2 separate regions of the Homo sapiens genome follow, and region 1 is linked to region 2. The links are contacts of gene promoters, found by promoter capture Hi-C in human tissues and cell types (Jung and others, 2019). All regions are on one chromosome and are shown on one strand. Each heading gives the region's core, a stretch centred on a gene start or on the middle of the fragment in contact. The rest is flanking DNA. Distances are from core to core; before and after follow the strand shown. Region 1 has its middle 60 kb from the start of MIR8052. Region 2 holds the start of ADAMTS15 (ADAM metallopeptidase with thrombospondin type 1 motif 15).

Evidence for each region. The method cuts DNA at HindIII sites, captures the fragments that hold promoters and counts their contacts. A contact is called where the count stands out against the background at its distance.
Region 1: a contact is called between a fragment that was not itself captured here and the fragment with the promoter of ADAMTS15 in region 2, in 2 of the 25 tissues and cell types used here (aorta and bladder).

What each region holds. Positions count from the first base shown.
Region 1 is chr11:130,604,749-130,609,245 of GRCh38, forward strand. No RefSeq gene overlaps it. Among named protein-coding and RNA genes, the nearest start is that of MIR8052, 60 kb to the right of the region's middle. The HindIII fragment of the contact is 3,601 bases long and covers 1-3,582 here.
Region 2 is chr11:130,444,980-130,450,034 of GRCh38, forward strand. It overlaps ADAMTS15 (ADAM metallopeptidase with thrombospondin type 1 motif 15), which reads left to right and starts at 3,666. Exons shown (of 8, transcript NM_139055.4): 1 at 3,666-4,951. The coding sequence starts at 3,995. The HindIII fragment of the contact is 14,209 bases long and covers 1-5,055 here.

The DNA.
Region 1 (4,497 bases), core at 532-3,031, 160 kb after region 2:
TTTATAGCCTTGGGTCACTGAGTTGGAGCTTCCAGGTCTAGTTGACCTGCCAGGCTGGAATTCCATTGCTTTGGTTTCTCAAGTAATGAAGTCAATCCCCTTGGATTCATGGAGTTTGTCCAGAAAAAGTTGATGTGATTTGCTTCTCGCAGGAATGAGGACTCTTTGAAGGTGGTGTTTCTGTTTAATACAGGTCTGTGGGTCTTGTTCCTAGCATGTGACCTGGCAAAGAGCATATCCAGTGAGTGTTGAGTGAACAAAGGAGAAGTGGAAGAGACTGCAATGAGGAGAGAACTCCCTGGCTGCAGGCGGCTTTCTCGCAGCCCCAGGTGGAAGCTCTTCTACTGCACCAGCCCTGTGGTTATGTCAGATGGACTCAGGCCTCCAGAGTGTGGCTCCATAAACAACAGGAAAAAAACCAAAGCTTTCTGACCAGTCTGCTGTGTTTGGATTGGTGGGAGGTTCCCAGTTGGAGTCAGTGCCTCAGACATGAGTATCAGAGTCCTTCCATATGAGTGAGAGGAAGGCTTCTTGGCTCAGTCCCCAACTTTGGTGTGGAGTATATGGGCCTGGGGGTGTGACTCCGGGGGTGAGGTGGGGGCAATGCAGAGGGGTAGGCTGTGTTTGGAGCTTCTCAGGTCCTTCTCAGTTCCTCCCATTGGCCCAGGCATCCTCGCTTGTCCCCATGTGGTCTGGGGTCAGGACAGCAAGTTCTAATCCAGGCCCTGCTGCTTGCCAGCTGGGTAACCCCAGGCAACTCATTTCACCAACCTGGGCTTCAATGTCCTCATTGTAAAATGACAGGGTAGATTAGGCAATCCCTAAGGTGTCTCCTCGCAGTTTTATGAAATTATTTTTGTTACCCTGTAGCTGCAGATCCTGGCAAGGAAGCACTGACATTTTTGACATATGTTGAGATGGTTGAGGAAGACGGAGGGGTATCGAGAAACAGGGATATGAGATGTACCCTGAAACGGAACCTGGGACTCCTTTTCCCTGGTCTTTTGCACTCATCACTACCCTACCCTCTTTTTATCTGTCCTTTACCCCACCCCCAAAAGATGATCCTTCTGGGAGATGACAGCGTGCAATGGGGGAAACGCAGAACATCCCAGCATCTCTCGGCCTCCGTTTCTCATCTGCACAGGGAGGCTAATGCCACCTCCCTTACTTGGAGGTTGTGAGGATGAAGTGAAGTCATCTATATGCTGTACCTTGTAAACTGTCAAACACCACATAAACGCAAGGCATAAAGCTGGCTTGGATGGGAAAACTATTATAACATGTCAGGTAGCCCCTTCTTACGTGAAGATGTTTCAGTACAAGGGATGTTTCTTTTGTCATTTGTCAATGGCCTGTCCTGTTGGGTTTTGCCTGCCTTTTGGAGGGAGAAACACTGCTGTCCAACACTTCATTTCTTTGGATGCTTTTCCACTAGAGCAGAAAGAAAAGCATTTTCCATATGATTTGGTTTATCTCAGTACGCCTGTGCAGCAGCATCTCTAGGTCTTAAGATGACAAGGATTTGCTCTCCATCTCTGGAGCAGAGAGGACCAGGGAGGCTGCGTTGGGAGCGATGCCAGGAAGTGGTGGTTGGTGTGTCATTTTCTTTCATGGCCATATTAGAGTTGGGTCCAGGGGAAAGGGCACTGAACAGGACTGGAGTTACTTCAAATCGTTCTGGTTTTTGATTTCCACATATTAGTTGAAAGTTTGACAAGATCTCAGATAACATCTAGCTCAGCTGCTCTCTTAGGCCTGAGAGTTAGGGCCTAGCTGAAGCCATCTAGCTCATTTAGAAAGGAACAGGAACTAGAATCTGGTCTCTGGACTTGGTTTTAGTGCTCTTTCTGGAATACCACAAGCATCCCTGTTCTTCCTCCTTCTTCCCACATATTCCCCATCACTCCCCACACCTCCCTTCACCTCTGCTCTTTGCTTCCCTTTCCTGAGCCCTTTTGGTGTAACTCTCAGGATGGAAAAGCTTTCTGAGTTTCTGGGACAGGCTTACTGTTTCATAGGGTGGAGTGACCTTCCCAAAGCAGCTTGGCCATGTTCTCCGGATGTCAGGAAGCAGCCTGGGCACCAGCTCACTGCATGGGCCTCTTCTCAGATCCAGATGCAAGAGTCAGAGACTCCACCCATGGGCCCCATGCCTAAGGGGTCAGAGACATAACTTGTGAAGTGGGTTCTGTGGTGGCTGGGGCCCACTGTCCCCTCCCCGTCCCTTGCTGATGTGGAAGGACCAGTGTGTGCTGACCTATGGTGTTCCTTCCTGATCCAATCCTTCTAACCCCTGCCCCCTTACCTCCCACTGGGGCATTCCAAAGCCACGAAGCATCCACTTGGCAGCCCTCTCCAGCGTCACCCAGATATCGCTGGCCTGTGTTCAAGTGCCCATCTAAGCCCAACACGGGGTTGCCTGGTCTAGGGGAACTCACCCTGGGGAGATGTCACCCTCTGGCAACAGCTGACTCTATTTATTCAGATGAGAACAATTTTCTCTCCTTTTGCACTTTCAACAAGCTTGACTTGAGGCTCCCCCATTGCTAGGCTGCCAAAAGCAATAAAAGGCTGAGGAGGAGGTGGAGGGAGGGTGGGGGTAGACGCTCCACGGTAATTGAGCTGTCAGCTGAGCCCTGGGGCTTCCTGGATCTGGGGTGTCTCACAGCCCACATGGGCTTGTTTGCAGCAATAGGGAAGGGAGCCGTTTGACTTCATAATCACTCAGAGAGATAGCGGTGCTCAGGGCAGGTGGGGTGGGCCTGGGTGGAAGGCGCTGCTAACCAGACTCCCATGTTGTCGGCTTCCTTCTGGTCTGGGCTGGAGCTGCCTCAATAGTTTGAACAGGAAACCGAACTGTCACATGGAGGTGGTGGGTGGGGATCATTGTGGGGTAGAGGGCCTCAATGCTGTGTGCTCTGTGATGTGCCAAAATGAGTAAGTCAGGAGACGATGTCCAGGTACACCCCAAATCTGAGGGCCCAAAGAGCAGCTTGGCTCTCGCCAGAGCATCCCTGTTTGTTTTTCAGTTTTGCTGGCTTTTTGCTGTTCTACAGTAGTGACTCTTGTGGGATTATTGGGCTATTAGTTCCCCGGGAGGAGGGTCCTGGAGTATCATTTCTGCCAGCCTGCCACCGTCCGGGTGTCTTGGGTGAGAAGACAGGTATGCACTCTGGGCTGCTCTGAGTGGACCTGGCTGCCCTGGGGCTGCAAAGCTGGGCCCCTTTCACCCGGGGACTTGGATGGCTTGGGATGCTATCAAGAGTGGGATGCAGAGGAAGGCAGTGAGCAGCTTCCTTAAGGGAGGGTCACAAGGACCCACATCACTATCATTTGGAAACAGTTTATTGTCCCAGTTTGGCATTCAGCTGCTCTGCTTGCCTTCCCCTTCACACTCATTCTCTTGTCCTTCCCCAGTCCTCGCTCAGATCCAGCATCCCCCACACCTGGCACCACAGGGGCCTTTGCTCACACTGCCCCCTCTGCCATGATGGCCCTTTCCTCGTGTCCAACCACACCCATGGATCACACTCTACTTCCTCCCTAATTCCTTCCTGAAACTCCTCTGAGACCTCTCTGGCTTCCCTGTCCTTTCCTCATCCCTCACTTACAGCACCAAGACCCCTCTGTCTCCTGTCAGTGGCTCAGGAATGGCCCTGCGTCTCCCGCTAGATTGAGCTTCCTGAAGGAGAGATTCTCGCTCTCTCACGCTGTGCCTCCTTCACACGCCTAGCACAGGCCCTGTGAGCAGGTGTGCAGCAATTCCCTGTGTGGGTGAGACATCCCGCAAGCAAGCATTAACATTTGCACATTTGCATAGTGCATGATAAAGATGGAGCTCCTGCTCTCGGTAGCTCTTCATTTGGAACAGAGGGCTCTGATGGGGGCCAATGAATAAATGAAAAGGCCCTATGTATGGGTATGCCTTAAACCCGGTTTGTGGTTGTTGGAGCAGGCTTTCTACCAATGCTCCTGGGGCTCAGTGATAGTTCTGGATCACCCATATTGTCTTGTCAGTCTCACCTGCAAATTTCTAGTTTGAAAGTCTTGGGAAGCCTGCACTAGACACCTCTGTGCTAATCCTAGAGGGGAACCAGCTTAAGAAATAAGCCACCACCTTTGATGGGACCTAAGTCCCTAGGTCACTGTCCAGCAGCACCACTTGATTCCTAGCTCTGGCCCCAGGGGTTGATCTCAAAATAAATTTCAAATCATAGTTGATGGGAAAAAAAAGAAGATTGAGATGAAATTAAAAATAAATGGGAATAGCATACGGAAGTATAGGGAGGGCAGAGCTGGGGCCGGGGCCCCTGGGTGCTTAAAGGAGAAAGATGTTCTTCCCATGAGAAAAATCATCTAAGAGCATCAAATAAGCCTCTTGTGAGGGATAGAGACTCCTCTGTCCCCAGACTCCTCCCACTGAGAAAGTGGGTGGCTCTAGACTTGTGCTGGCTCCTGATGTAGGGCTCATGGGCGGGGCTCAGACTCAGGGCT
Region 2 (5,055 bases), core at 2,416-4,915:
GGCGAAGGACAGAAAGGCCAAGCTGGGGGTCTTAGATCTGACAGATGGCTTAGACCCCCAGTCGTCCTCTGGGGGAAGAGCTGCTTTTTAAAAAATTTTCATTTTCATACATTGACAGGGAGTTGCTTTTTATTTTCCAGGGATGTTAAGATCATGGAGGGCAGGAGAAGCGAGAACTCCATGGCGGTTGTGGAGTCCCGTTATGGAAGTGGGACGTGGGAGCCAATGTGAAAGCTCCCGAGCAGAACTGGGAGAGGACACGCCCCAGAAAACTTCAGAAGGTGATGACAGCAATCAGCTTGGAGGGCCTAGCAGAGACTGATAGCACTAGGAGGAGTAATAATAATAGCACATAAGAATATTAGCAGTACTATTCGATAATATTTAAGGAACTTTTAAAATATACCAAGCATTGCCAAACACTTTGGAAGTATAATATTAACTCATTTAGTCCAGGCAGTGGGTAGAATTTGTATCCCCATTTTAATAATGAGAAAAGTGAGGCTTAGAGAGGTACAGTAATTTACCCAAGATTGCACAGCTAAGATCTGGTGGAGGCATGCACACAGGGCCCTCTGACCATGGGCTCTAAATCACTGTACTATGTTCCCTTCCATAGGCCTCAATCAGTCATGTAATATTTGACCTGGTCGTTATCTTAGGTATTATCTAGACCACAGATTTTGGATGCAGTTCTCTGGCTGAAGACCTCTGAGCTAGGATAACCCCTTCTCTTTTGACAGACGAGTCAGAGAATCAGATCAGTGATAGAAGTGGAGTGCCAATCCTGAGTATCACCTCTACTCAAGTGCTCAACATATCCCTAGATCCTCAATTCCCTGGCAAAAGTGATTGGATGGAACCACAGGCTTCCAAGAGGGGACAGTCAAGCATTAAATACGAGAATGCACATATAACTCTTGGTGCAATGTTTAGCACATACTAAGCCTGCAATACATGCTAATCCCTTTGAGCAAATCCACATGGCCAGTTTCTGTGCTCAGGGGTGAGAATAGCTGGGCTGTGATTGGGGCAGGGGGAGCACTAAGTGGGAGGGACTTCCTGTCTCAGGTCCCTGCCATCTTGACTGACATGCTGCAGCCCTTGCCAAAACCCATGGGTCAGAATGAAAGTAAAGTGCCGTTGAAAACCTTGCAATCCACCTTTAAAACTGCCGGGTGTAGTAAAACAATTGCTTGCCCCAAATAAATGACTTATCATTGCTGTTGGTTGTCTGCGTTTCTCTTTAATTATAGGCCCTCTTTGAACGCTCAAACACACAGGGCCTTTGTAAGCTTGAACTCCCTGTCTCACACACAGTCCTCCCATACCCATACACTCTCTTTCATTTGCAGAGTATAAACACCCATCTCTCACTCATTCACATAATGAATTTCAGCTCCTTGTGTCCCAATCAAGGAGAGGCCTCACTGGAATTATGGGCATCTGAGCCATCTTCATGTTCCAAGGCCCCAGGGGGCGCTTCCAAGAGTGGATCCTTTATGGGGAGAAGATAATGGGCAAAAAGTGCTCTTCACTGATGGACCAGTCCCAGCCTTTTCTCTCCTTGGACAATAGAGTTCTTCCCTTGAACAGCCACTTCCCTAAAAAAAATTCCAAAATTCTCCCACATCATCCCCTTTATGCTTAAAATCATCACACACTCCCTTCTTTGTCCTCCCCTCTTGCAAACTCAACTCAGAGCCCTTTGGCTCCAGAAAGATTTTCTAGGTATCAGGAGAGAGTAGCAAAGCCTCCCTCCTCTCCTTGCCTTTCTCCCTTGTCAGAGAAAGAAGTTGATTCTGCGGAGAGGTAAGAAGGATCTTGAGGTCTAGAGCCTGAAAAACTCCTTGGGCTGTTCTCCAAACTAGATGGGAACATAAGGTGCGATTGCATCTTCTCCAGCTGATACTCACTCGGCCTCCTATGCCAGTCCCCAGTCCAGGGTTTGGTCAAGGGTCAAATGAGATAATTTCATGGAGGAAGCCTGGCCCGATTTTTCTACTGTTTGCTGGAAGACAGCCTCTTCCTCTTGTAACTGCAGCCCCAGAACCTGATCTCCACATCCCTGCCAGGCAGGTAGCTGTGTACAAGGGCTCATCTTCCTGCCCCCAACCCCAGCTCTGATTTGCTTATTCAGGTGGTGTAAATACTTCTACCAGGACCTATTTCAAGCCATTGTGATGTCCCTGACTGGGGAGATGCAGGGCAGCACACCATTTAATATTTCCCTCACATTTCCACCCCATTCTGCACTCTTTTCTGGGAGTTGCTGTCTCAGAGGGTTGGCGGTTCTGGTGGCTCAAGACCATAAGTAATTATCAAATACTTAGGAAGCGACGGGTTTTGAGTATTTATTACCTTTTAAAAATGTACTTTGTGGCTAGGCATGGTGGCTCACGCCTGTAGTCCCCGCACCGGGAGGCCGAGGTGGGTGGATTGCTTGAGCTCAGGAGTTCAAGACCAGCCTGGGCAACACGGCGAAACCCAGTCTCTACCAAAAATACACACACACACACACACACACACACACACACACACACACACACACAAATTGGCCTAGCGTGGTGTCGTGTGTCTGTGGTCGCAGTTACTCAGGAGACCAAGGTAGGAGGTAGGAAACCAAGGTAGGAGGATCACCCGAGGTCGGTAGTTCGAGACCAGCCTGACCAACATGGAGAAACCCTGTCTTTACTAAAAATACAAAATTAGCTGGGCGTGGTGGTGCATGCCTGTAATTCCAGCTACTTGGGAGGCTGAGACAGGAGAATGGCTTGAACCCGGAAGGCGGAGTTTGCGGTGAGCTGAGATCGCGTCATTGCACTCCAGCCTGGGCAACAAGAGCAAAACTCCGTCTCAAAAAAAAAAAAATATATATATATATGTGTGTGTGTGTGTGTGTGTGTGTATGTATATATATATATGTATGTGTATATATATGTATGTGTGTGTGTGTGCATATATATATATACACTTTGTTTAATTGTAAGTGTGTTTAGTTTAATTTTTAATAATGTCCGTGATTAACAGCTGGCTGGCAAGATTCCTGAGAACTGAAGAGTTTGCCCCAGCCCATCCAGCACACCATGGGCCCAGGGCAGACCTTGGGGCTAGGCGGTCTTGGGTTCCAGAGGGCTCCCATGCCCCTGTCCTATTGCTCTTCTGGCAATAGGACATTTACGCGGGGGGGGGGGTGGTTCTTGATTCTGGGTCTTTTAGGGGACTCTGTGATTAAGAAACAGCAGGGATGTTGCAACAGCAGGGATGAGGTGGGCCTGGGGACGGGTCAGTGAAGGGTCTTCATTCCTAGCTGCTGACCTGATCTGCCCTGAGATAAAAGACTAAGACCCAGAGAGTGAACGCTGTCCGCGGGGGCAGAAGCGAGTGAGGCGTCGGGACAGTGGGGCATAACCAAGAGCAAAACGCAAACTGAGACTTCAGCGCCGGTTTCTCGGGCCAGCCCACGCCTCCTGCCTCAGCTCAATGCCACTCCCTCCCCGCCAAGTGGCTCTCCGCTCTGGAGGCGGGACCGAGTTCTCCGGTGGCCCCTGGAGGCTCCGGCAGCGAGCTCTGGGAGGCTGGGAGGGGAGTGAGGGGAGGGGCGCTGACTGGGCCGTCCAAAGAGGAGGGGGCCTTTAATAGGCTCGCCCAGCGCCTGGCTTGCTGCGCTGCGAGTGGCTGCGGTTGCGAGAAGCCGCCCGGCACCTTCCGCTAGTTCTCGGCTGCAAATCTTCGTCCTTGCACTTGACAGCGATTGTACTTAAGCTCCCAGGGCGCGCTTTGCTTGGAAAGGCACAGGTAGGAAGCGCGGGCTGCCGGGTGCACGCTCGCCGCCCTGGGAGGAGTCTCCCTCCCTTGGCTCTCCTTTCTGGGAACTGCCGGCTGTCCCGTAGCGTTGGCGGTTCCAGAGTGCGGGCTGCACGGAGACCGCGGCAGCGGCCGGAGAGCCCGGCCCAGCCCCTTCCCACAGCGCGGCGGTGCGCTGCCCGGCGCCATGCTTCTGCTGGGCATCCTAACCCTGGCTTTCGCCGGGCGAACCGCTGGAGGCTCTGAGCCAGAGCGGGAGGTAGTCGTTCCCATCCGACTGGACCCGGACATTAACGGCCGCCGCTACTACTGGCGGGGTCCCGAGGACTCCGGGGATCAGGGACTCATTTTTCAGATCACAGCATTTCAGGAGGACTTTTACCTACACCTGACGCCGGATGCTCAGTTCTTGGCTCCCGCCTTCTCCACTGAGCATCTGGGCGTCCCCCTCCAGGGGCTCACCGGGGGCTCTTCAGACCTGCGACGCTGCTTCTATTCTGGGGACGTGAACGCCGAGCCGGACTCGTTCGCTGCTGTGAGCCTGTGCGGGGGGCTCCGCGGAGCCTTTGGCTACCGAGGCGCCGAGTATGTCATTAGCCCGCTGCCCAATGCTAGCGCGCCGGCGGCGCAGCGCAACAGCCAGGGCGCACACCTTCTCCAGCGCCGGGGTGTTCCGGGCGGGCCTTCCGGAGACCCCACCTCTCGCTGCGGGGTGGCCTCGGGCTGGAACCCCGCCATCCTACGGGCCCTGGACCCTTACAAGCCGCGGCGGGCGGGCTTCGGGGAGAGTCGTAGCCGGCGCAGGTCTGGGCGCGCCAAGCGTTTCGTGTCTATCCCGCGGTACGTGGAGACGCTGGTGGTCGCGGACGAGTCAATGGTCAAGTTCCACGGCGCGGACCTGGAACATTATCTGCTGACGCTGCTGGCAACGGCGGCGCGACTCTACCGCCATCCCAGCATCCTCAACCCCATCAACATCGTTGTGGTCAAGGTGCTGCTTCTTAGAGATCGTGACTCCGGGCCCAAGGTCACCGGCAATGCGGCCCTGACGCTGCGCAACTTCTGTGCCTGGCAGAAGAAGCTGAACAAAGTGAGTGACAAGCACCCCGAGTACTGGGACACTGCCATCCTCTTCACCAGGCAGGTGAGTTGATCTGCCGTCACTTTGCACCCAGATAGTCCCGTTCTTTAGGGTCACCTCCCCTAGCGCTCCAAATCCCCTTTGTATCGTGCAATGCCTCCGAGTTT